Regions from separate parts of the Homo sapiens genome. Here region 1 is linked to region 2. Evidence: promoter capture Hi-C in human tissues and cell types (Jung and others, 2019). All regions are on one chromosome and are shown on one strand. The core of a region is centred on a gene start or on the middle of the fragment in contact, and the rest is flanking DNA. Distances in the headings are between cores, read along the strand shown. Region 1 overlaps SYNJ1 (synaptojanin 1). Region 2 holds the start of EVA1C (eva-1 homolog C).

Region 1 (5,026 bases), core at 2,007-4,506, 230 kb before region 2:
AGTGCACCCTGTTTTCTCCGGTACAGAATAGGAAAACTTGTAGATGATAAGCTCTCAATGGAAAGGAAACTTGCTATAACTGTCACTAGATGACAATTGTTCTTAATCTTTTTTCTATGTGGTTAGGTTTGTCTATGTCTTATAACTGATGATTTTCTATGGTATGAACCCGTTAACTATTTGAGCTTTTTCTTCTCTCTACTGGCCAGACTACAAAATGGCTTAACTCAAACAATACTTTGTGCATATCAATAGGGCCACTTAGTAAATTAGCTTTCAGCACCTGAGGCCTAGGTAAGAAGTCAGCACAGAGGTAGCATTATTGCTGCCATGGTACCAAAGGGCAGTTTAATAGTAGACTGCTTTTGTTATTCATACTGAAAATACATGCCCTTTCTTTACACCATTGTGCACATTTTATAGAACATTACACATATATATGAAGGACTGTTCCCTTCTGTCAACAGCTACTTAGAAGCTGATCTTCTTACCTCCTGTGCGCTTTTTAGGTTCTCCTATTGACGCGCAGCCAGCAACGCCGCTGCCGCAGAAAGACCCCGCCCAGCCCTTGGAGCCCAAGCGGCCGCCGCCGCCCCGCCCGGTCGCCCCTCCCACACGCCCGGCTCCCCCACAGAGACCTCCTCCGCCTTCAGGTGACAACCTTTTATTTCCATTTCTGCTAGATGTAAAATTCTTCACTCTATTTTAAAATGTTTTGCATGTTTTCCAATCTCTAGCTTCTGGATTTTACAGTTTTTTCTATCATTATTGCTATTTCTTAGCTTTTCTCTAAAGAACATGGTAGGCGCAACAGACAAGGTAGAGTGTTTGCAGAGTAGATTCCTCTAAGGTGTTTTCACAGCTGCCTTTAGCTGCCTTCTCACCAGCCAGCCAGAGAGGTTTATTTTGTTTTTGCTAATTTGATCTAGTTAGGCATGTAAACTGTTCTTAGGTAAAATTAGGTTTAATTTTTTTCAAAATCCTCATTTCTGGATGATTTATAAGCATAAAATAATTAAAATGTACTAATTTCTGTAAAAGTATAATAAAACTGGAGAGCATACGTATTAATGTACAATTGTATGTATTTGTTTAATGTTCTTTTAAATTAAATATAGTGCTGTTACTTCAATTATAAGCATATGCATTGAATAATAGTTTTTGTAGTACGTAGATAATATGTAATTCCTGCATGATACTTGATGTCATGGATACTATAGCAATCTTTGACATTTCACTTCTGTATTTAATGTCATTTCCTTTCTGCTGCCTATTTTCTTATGAACTATAAGGGGCTAGGAGTCCTGCACCCACTAGAAAGGAATTTGGAGGTAACCATTTACATTTGTTAGCATGTGTGAATCGTGGTTCATTAATGTTTTACACCTGAAAGACATTTTAGATTTGTTTGATAAAAGTCAAAATGAATGACATTCTAGTTTAAAACTAATCCACAAATAAAACTAATAAAGGCTTTCATTTCCCAGGTAGGCTGGGATTGTTCATCAGGCCTAATTTTTTTTTTAATAAATGTGGTCGATTCATTTACAAAGATTTAATACCCAAAAGTTATATTAATTTTAAAAGTCATTCAGGTACAGTAAATACAGAACATTTCCCAAGTATCTGATTAGTGATACATTTATTTTCTAGTGGAAAAGCTTTTGGATTAGCAAAGAACTGTATGATTTTCTTTTCCTTTCTTCATAAGGAAATTTTTATTCACAAAGGGTCACTTTTTGTTTGAAGTATAGTTTATTTGGTTTACATGAAAACTCACAGAGCTCAGTTGGAGTTATACATTTGACAAGTTTATTTAATCTAAATCTCAAGAAAAGATGAGATGAGTTTTCACAATTCCTCAGAAGAACTTTTACAAATCCAGTGTTACTAAGGCTCACTGTGCATGTGTAGCCTGGTCTGTTTCTATTGTAGCTTGCCTAGTGACATGGCTGAGCAATTCAGGTCTTACTACAGACTGACTTTGCCTGTGTGTAGATCTTAATGACTGCGTGTGATAAGAATAGCTAAATTATTTCAGCATTACAGCTTCTGCCGAATACAGCTAAGTGATCATTTCTCCATTGACCTACAGAAAACATTTAATTTTTCCCTTTTCAAGCTCCTGCTTTTATAGAAAACATTTAATTTTTCCCTTTTCAAGCTCCTGCTTTTATTTAAATTTCCATGATAATTTTTGCTTATCTTCTGCTTTAATTAGGAAAACATCCTGTAGAAAATAAATTTAAAATGAATCTGTCAAAAGTTAGGCAAGCCAGTGGATTACAGTGAAATCTGTCTTAATTTTAAAAATTGCTCCCCTTCATAATTCTTTTGTAAGTAGTGTTTGCAACATGTTTTTTCATCCTATAAACAATAATTCCTTTACGTCATTATAGTACATTAGAGTTTTTAAAATTAATGCATCAAAAACTAACTTCAAAAGACTTACGTAGTCTCATAGAAATTTATGATTTCTTTCCTTTTGACTATCAAATATCAGAGTTTTTACTTGCTCTGGATATAAGGAGTAAGATGATTTTTAAAGCAAAGGTCTTCATTAAACATATTTTTTAAATTCCCTACTGGTAGTAATTGCATACATAAAAAGAAAACTGTCATCCTGTTTCTACTCTTCTGTTTGAGTAAAGGGAGGATTCAGATTTGGGCCAAGCATCTAAAGTCACTTTGGTTTGTATTGATATCTTTGAAGAAATTTAAAGCAATAAAAGAGCCTTTTTGCAAAAGTGAGTTTACTATGGAAATTGTCTTGTGTGCCTGCCTTTCATTCTGTGCTGTGGGCCCTGAACAATATATAGTTTCTGTTCTTTCTCTAAAAAGGTATTGGAGCCCCTCCCAGTCCTGGGGTAGCTAGGAGAGAGATGGAAGGTAACAAGACTCTTGCATTATAGAAGTGGTTCTCTCATTTTATTTCTCAGTGTCAGCGCCCCACCTCCCCACCCCGCAGTGTTTGCAGGCATACTAAATCTTTTCTTGGTCCAGCTGTAAACTTCTCTTTCCCCTCCTTATGTATACCTTGTATTTTTTCCTCTCTTCATTCTATGTCACCTATAGTTTCTAATGGATATCCATTTAATTTCCCTGAGATCCTTAATGTTGTTTGTACTCTGTTTCATATATAGTTTATATATGCCCAGGTTGTGAAATTACTGTTTAAGAATGTCTTCAAAATTCTTTTCAGAATAAGTAAAATATTTAGAAATGTACTTTACTAATCTGAAGTTTTAAAAATTAATGATTATAATTAAACCCTATTAATTCAGATCCAAGAATATAGTATTTTGTAGTTGATTTCAGATAACATAGCTATTTTATAGATTAGCACTGAGCCAGATTTGTTTAAAAGACCTTTAAGACTAGAGGCCATTTGTTATGATTTTAGTTATTAAAAGGCTGATGTATTTCTTATAACAATTGTACTTGAATTTCTTTACAAAAAGGAGAGTTTATTTAAGATGCTGCCCTTGATAGTCACTCCTACTCCTTTTGGCTCCAAGAGTAATTTATTTCATTTTATCCTTCAGCTACCTTTCTAATGAGTTTGAACATATTTTTAACACTGTCTTCCATAAGGCAGATATTTGGTAATAACATATGCCTGTCTTCTGTCTTAATGATGGGATTTTGTTATAGAAATCCGAAAGATCTCATCATAAGATAACCTTATCCACAGTGACATCTACAGCGTGAAGCCCTAAAGTATTGCTACTAGGAGCCTCTTGTGTAATTTGACAAATGCAGTCCTGTCTGTTGCTCAGAAGCCACTTGTCTGCCAGACTCTAAGGGGCAGCAGTGCCGCATCTTGTGACCATTCACACAGCTGACTGTATGTTTTCAAGGTTCACGAGAGAGTTCTATGGGGAATGCCACCCTAAAAGTGGTCCCATGAGTGAGATATCAAACTAAAGTCACCACTTGTCTCCCATAAAGGTCTATCTAAATATTGTAATTTTTCTCTCTTTTGGAGTATTTCATTCAGGACTGATAATACCCTTCATCATTATACAAAGCAAAGTGCTTTGTTTTGTTACCATCTCATGCCCCCATTTCTGCTGGTAATGAAGCAGAACAGCAAGCTGATGTTATGCAATATTGCTTAATTGTTAACTTACAACTAATTTTTTTTTCCCTTCTTGCTTCAAAGCACCCAAAAGCCCTGGAACAACAAGGAAAGATAATATAGGTAAAAACACTTGAATGTAGCTATTCACCCTTAAAACTGGACCGTGAAATAGACACTTGGAATATAAGTACATGGTTTCTTGTTTATTTTTTTAAACTTAAATATATGATATGATGTCTTTGTTCCAGGACGCAGTCAGCCTTCACCTCAAGCAGGACTTGCAGGCCCAGGACCTGCTGGATACAGTACAGCCAGACCGGTAGGTAAAACCTCGCCTGGGGCCAAGGGGTCTCGGTTCTAAGTCCTGTTTACTACTAGTCAGTTTTGTTACCTTGGAGAAATCATGTGACCCTTCAAGGCCTCAATTTCCTCATCTCTAAAATGAGGGAATTGCACTTGATGATCTTCCGACTCTAACATTATTTTAACATACTCTTCAAAAATAACAAACTTCATTATTTGGATAAAAGTGATACACTTAAAACAATTATGGTCACTAAATAAATATCTTAAGAGTCTCAGTATATGAGGAAATGATGGATTTGGGCAGCTTTTTATCATTTTACCTGAGTAATTAATGAAGATATAAAGTAATCCTTCATTAAAAAGGATTTTAATTACATTTCAGAAAAAAAAATGATAAATTCAGTATAGTAAAACTGGTTCTAAAGGTTTTTTTCTCTTTTTGGTTTTTTTCTTGATCAGGTTCATCATATTCCGTAAAGGTATTAGAAATAGGAGAGTAGATGTTGTTACAGGATTTTTCCCTACCTGATGAATGTGTCTTTTCTGTATGTTTATATGTTCTCTTATACACATAGGTTTTTTATTATTTGAAAACTTTCTCTGGACTATAACAGGTAATCAAGAACAGAGAGAAAG
Region 2 (5,596 bases), core at 1,949-4,448:
AAAGAGGAAAGTGGATGAAAGCCAAGCACATTTGAGTATGAGATTAAGGATCAGAGGCACTAATTTTGCATGAACTTCTCTTGCCTTCGCTGGGATTCATTTTTAATGCAGTGATGATAGCCTTCCAGTGGCCGCTGGCGACATCTCAAAATCTTTGGAGATGAGAGAGAAGGCGGTGTTTGGGGAGCCTGTTTACTAGCAAGCTTGGAGGTGATTAGAACAAGTCACGAGCATGGACAGGGAGGAGGAGGGGGCCATGATGCTGCCTCTGGCTTATTAAGAGTGAGATCGATGCTGGAATCCCTGAGGGCAAAAAAAAATCAATGACCCAGGAAAACGACACCAGCTGACAGCCCCAGGAAAAGGCTCAAGGAAGAGCCGCAAAGAAGAGAAAGGCTTAAGGAACTTTCCAAAACTCTGCACTGCTAATCTCCTGGGGGGAGAAAGGGGCCTATATTGTACAGACAATGGCTGGGACCCCTGACATTCTGGCACTTTCTTTCACATGGATACACCATCCTCCCTCCTCCTTCACAGGGCAGAGGGATCCCAAGTTTCCTCTATCCTCTGCTAGTTTTTGATGTTCCCTTTATTTAGAAAAACAGGCAAGTATCTGCATTGTCAAACACTGCTCTCTAGCCCTGGTTATTGTGATCAGGCTCTGCAGGGGAGGATCCACTGTCTCCTTCCAGGCCTCAGTTTTGGTTTCTATGCACTCCTTCAAGTTCATAAAAAGGAACAGGACCGACTGTCCCAGGAACACAGGCGGCAAGCTTTGAGGCCACATGGGGTTCGCGTCAGCTGAAACACTGAACCGAACAATAAGATGGTCATCTTTGGAGCTTAGGAATTTGCAGAGGGAGGGCGGCTAAAATCCAAGTCAAATGAGCCAACTTTGGAAGATGATCTTTCTTTCTCCCTGAGATTTTTCTAATATTTCCCTGACCTCACATGATATAGAATTAAGGTTTAAATTTAAGTGCATCAGTGGTTTGGGAGGACATTATATTTCCTTTCTTCTCCCCAAAAGGCTTCTGACATGTTCTGCCTAATCTTCAGATCTCTGGAGAGCATCACTGATGAGAGGAAAAATGGGGGCTCGTTGTGGGTGGCAATATCACCACCTACTGCTGGCTCAGGGAGTTTGAAACCCTGGAATTTAGGTTCGTATGGAAAGCAGAAGAAAATGCCTTTTATCATTTATACTATTTAGAATAACATGTATCAAATCATTCATTTTACTAAGGAGTTGATAGCTCAACTCCACTGTATGTAACAGTTGCTAGATACAGACAATTCCAAACTTGGGTGGTAATCTATAGACTGTTACAAGTATTGCAACTGCTTCCCTAAAGCAACAGAACTCTAAGTGTCTATAATCTGTGAAAACAATCTAATGGTTACACTGCAATTTGCCTAAAGCAATATTTGTTCAGTTGCAATGATGTCACAAACACAAAAAGGCTTGTCAGTTTTCAATTATTTCCTTAGAATTCAGAGCTAGATGGTGGCTGAACTCAGAACTGCTTTCCATAGCTCAAATCAGCTAATACAGAGCTTTTCTAGCAGCCAAGAAAGTTCTAGTAGTACAAAAAAAAAAGTTAATAGCCCTTGAAAAGTCTGATGCATTTCCCCACAACTCTTACCACAGAGTTCTGATCCTGGGATGCTTGATTTTAAGGGCCGTGGGTGGCTTGCCAAATAGGCCTTATCTTGGCTTCCTTTGCTAGGTAGGAATACTGCCTTGATATTACATATTCAAAGCAAAGAACCTCTGACCTAAGGGCTCTCCACTAACAATGACATTCTCTGTAAGTAAACTAGAACCCCATCTCAACTTCTGGTTTGCCCTTGTTCTTTGCTATGTACTAGCCTACTGCACAAACAGGACTGAGGAGGACTCCCTTTACCACCATTATGTTGCAAAAGACTCTGCACTGAGGACCCGATAGGGACCGACTGTGCAAAGCCTGAACTTGGCAGAAGATCCCTGGAGAAGGAGGAGTATGGGGCTCAGAGCTGCTCCCTAAGCTGGGCTGGGGAAGGCTGAAGGCCTCCAGCCTTGCCAGAGGGAGATCCAGGTGTGCTTCAGCGGCAAGGACATGTGTTACCTTAAGCAACTGCAGCGCTAACTTAAGCATGTGCTCCTATGGCTATCGTCAACCTAGAAATCCCTTTCACTTTGGGGCGTCACACCTGTAAGCTCAGAACTATCTGAGATCCGCTGCGAGAGCCTGGATCACGATTCCCAAAAAGAAAAGCCTCCTAGTTTATTCGAGAGTAGGAAGTCATTATTTTCTGTGAAGGAAACTGGAATTGGAGAGGGAGGACCCTGGTACACTTTGGCAGAGAGGCTCCTCTCTCTTATCTAAGTATCTCCTCATCCCTCACTGCCTTTCCACCAGACCTCCAGTCCCCGCGGGCTTCCCTTTCTACCTGCCAATGTGGACTCGAGGTCAAGTGTCCCCTGGGCTAGTCTCCTTACATGGGCAAACGGGCTACGCGGGTGACAAACGCGGCGCAACGCCTCCGACCACAACACGTGTATTTTACAGCGCTGGGCGCGGCACAGGGCTCAGTTTAAGGAGCCTCCATAGAACGAGCGTGGCTCAGGACCAGGTCCCTAATGCTAGGAAATTGACGAGGTCAACAGCAGGGCGAGAAACTCTGAATACATTACACACCCTTCCTTCTTGGGAGTGGCAGTCCCCCGTCGCCACTTCACTCGCAGCCATCTATATGCCAAGGGCTCACACCAGACAAGTGTCTGTGAGCACGCCTCAACTTTAATCCTACCCCGCCGTGTCCACTGGTGCGGCTGCCCCCAGTCGAGGGTTCACCTGGGCGCTCCGCGGTGCCGGGGGCACACAGCCAGGGAGGGCGCTCTTACCAGAGAAGTCGGTGAGCGCTGAGATCTCTTTGGAGCAGACCAGGACAGTGCAGTAGAAGAGGCGCAGGAGCTGCCCCGGCGGCTCTACCTGCCGGCGGAGGCCGGGATGCTGCACGGGCTGGGGCGTCGGCGGTTGGCGTGCGCGTCCCGGCAGAAGCATCGTGCGCTGCGCGGCGGGGCGGAGGCGCAGGCCCGGGACGCGCTGGGGGTCGCAGGGCTAAGGACGGCGTCACATGGCGGGGAGAATCGATGGCCAGCGGCTCCGCGGCCCCCCGCCGCCTCCCTGCCCAGGCTGCCAGAGCCTCCTCCCCTGCGCGGGCCAGCCCAGGCGCCCCAGCAAAGGGGAGGGGGCGGAGAACTGGGGCGGGGCGAGGATCCCCGAAAAGGATCCGCGTAGTTTCCCCGAGAGGAAATCTCCGTTGCCGCCGTGCCGGAGGAAGCGAGGGGGGCCGTAGGGAAAGCGCAGCCTTCGCGCGCCCCGCGGCTGCCCAGGCCGATCCCTGGCGCGCTGCCCACCGCGGAGGGCGCCCCCAGTAGCGCGCCCCGGGCCGCGCACCTTGAGCGCCTTCCACACCCGGGAAACAGCCGGGCACCCGTGGCCCTGCCCGCGCTGGCCGGGTGCCAGCCTCGCCCTGGCGGCAGAAGGAGCGCGGCCGGTGCCCGTGACGCACTTTGGAGCCAGCGCCGCGCGTGCAGCTGGGGCGCCCCCGGGGCGGGGCCGATCGGGGGCCGCAGGAAGGTGGGGTCCTGGAGGCGTGGGATCGCACCGCTGCCATCCCCGCCACCCGCCGCGCGCCACGTGCAGTCACCCGGCACATACAGTTATCGCCATTCCACAGAAGAGGAGACTGAGCCCCGGCGCCGTGCCCAAGCTCTCGCAGCCAGGACGGCGACGAGCTGGAGGTCTCAAAACCGGTCAGATGGCTCCGGAGCCGGGATCTTTAGCTCCAGCTCGGCTTCCTTTGGGTGCTGGTTGTCCGCAGCGCTGGGGGATCTGACACTGCACCGGCGCAAACAGCCGCCGAGCGCTAATAATTGGGCTTTGTTTTAAAGTGGGCCACAGCATCTTTCTGAACCTCTAGACTGTGCGCGGGGTGACCCACGTTCGGACGCCCAGCCAGTGGCCTAGGAGTGGCCTGCGTAGCCCCAACTCAAGGGTATCGAGGACAAGTGCGCGAGGGGCTCCGTGGCTGCTTGCCGGGTGCGGGTACCTGGCGCCCAGCGACCCAAACCCTATGGATCGCGCGGGGCCGGCGGAAGGGAGGAGGGCGGGCGCTAGGCACACAGTGTTCCCGAACCCGGCGGGAGGGCCTGCCAAGTTCGCGGCGGGCGTGACGCGGAAACGTAGATAATGAGGCCCAGGGCGGGGCCGGACGCACTGCCCCGCGGGCTCCAGAGCTGCGAACGCCCCAGAGTGTGCAGGGAGGCCTGCAGAAAGAAAATGCGGCTGAGGGTCCCCGTGGGACCCACTCAGAGGTGGGCCGTAAAGATCCCGGAAGGGTGGATGGCATTAGATACCACCTAGTACTCCAGCAAGGGCTGGGTCACCGAATTGGGATCTCGGCCTCTTCTTCCAGTCTGGGGAAAAGTGTGTTAAATGCTAAACATCAGTGTTTATCGAGTGAGGCCCAGCCTGTCTGGCATAATGATTTTTAAAATCTACATTCAAATATTAAATAAAAACTCAACCTCCCCAATAACATTTGAACATAAATATTAGTGTGCGCTCTCTAGGTTAGGGAAACTGAAGCTGGGAGTGTGGGTAAGGATGCCCAGCACTTAGGAGCCACAGGGTAAGTAATGTTTGTCCAAAACTCGGGTCCCTCCTGTACTTTCCATTCTGTCTGTTCATTCATCCAGTTTAGATATGAATTGGTACCAACGTGTGCCAGGTTCTGCGCTAGTGACTGACAGTGTTGGCACAGGGAGGCAGCCATGCTCCCGAGTCCTGGGAGTGGGCAGCACTGCCCTGTGGGTCTGCACTGGCTTCCAAATGTCTAAGTGGGCACTGTTACTCACTGTGACAGCATCCCCAGGCTTTCTTACCTGGTAAAGCAGAAACTCAAACATACTTACACACCAATATTCATTGCAGCATTATTTATGATGGCCAAAAGATGGAAGCAACTCCAGTGGATGAATGCATACAGTTACTATTACAGCAGGGAAGACAGACATTGGAAAATAATGCCCCGTGAACGGACAGTCACGAAAGACAGGAACCATGGGAGCAGAAGCGAGGAATGAAGGAGCTGAGCCCGAGGGAGGAAGGGAGATATTCAGGAGCATTTTAAGGCAAGATGGATGAGAAAGCTAGAGGATGAATTGGCCAAGCAAAAACTAGCAAAACCCGGGTGTTGCGGGAGGATGAACATTTTAGAAAAAGGGACCAGCATGTTGAAATCCAAAAGGAGCATGGCTGTCTTGAAGGATGGGGAAAAGTCTAGACAGCTGGAGCAGAGCAAAGGGAAGAGCCAGGGGACTTGGAGGTAGGCAGGCCAGAGCTCAGGGCCCTGGAGACTTTGGTGAGAATTTCCGTCTTTTATCTTAAGCCAGCAAAGAACTGTAAGTACAAAAGTGATGTGATTGGATGTGTGTTGGTAAAAAGTCCTTCTCGGCTGCTGAGTGCAAATGGACTGGAGGAGTCAAAAGCAGGCCCTGGAAGTATGTGTGCCAAATAACTAAAAGCAGAGACAGACTCAAACA

The links. The method cuts DNA at HindIII sites, captures the fragments that hold promoters and counts their contacts. A contact is called where the count stands out against the background at its distance.
Region 1: a contact is called between a fragment that was not itself captured here and the fragment with the promoter of EVA1C in region 2, in 3 of the 25 tissues and cell types used here (aorta, dorsolateral prefrontal cortex and thymus).

Annotation. Positions count from the first base shown.
Region 1 is chr21:32,641,273-32,646,298 of GRCh38, reverse strand. SYNJ1 (synaptojanin 1) reads left to right here. Exons shown (of 33, transcript NM_203446.3): 25 at 510-653; 26 at 1,293-1,331; 27 at 2,842-2,889; 28 at 4,166-4,204; 29 at 4,333-4,403. Among named protein-coding and RNA genes, the nearest start is that of CFAP298-TCP10L, 31 kb to the right of the region's middle. The HindIII fragment of the contact is 6,056 bases long and covers 229-5,026 here.
Region 2 is chr21:32,410,308-32,415,903 of GRCh38, reverse strand. EVA1C (eva-1 homolog C) reads right to left here and starts at 3,198. Exons shown (of 8, transcript NM_058187.5): 1 at 2,891-3,198. The coding sequence starts at 3,050. The HindIII fragment of the contact is 9,144 bases long and covers 489-5,596 here.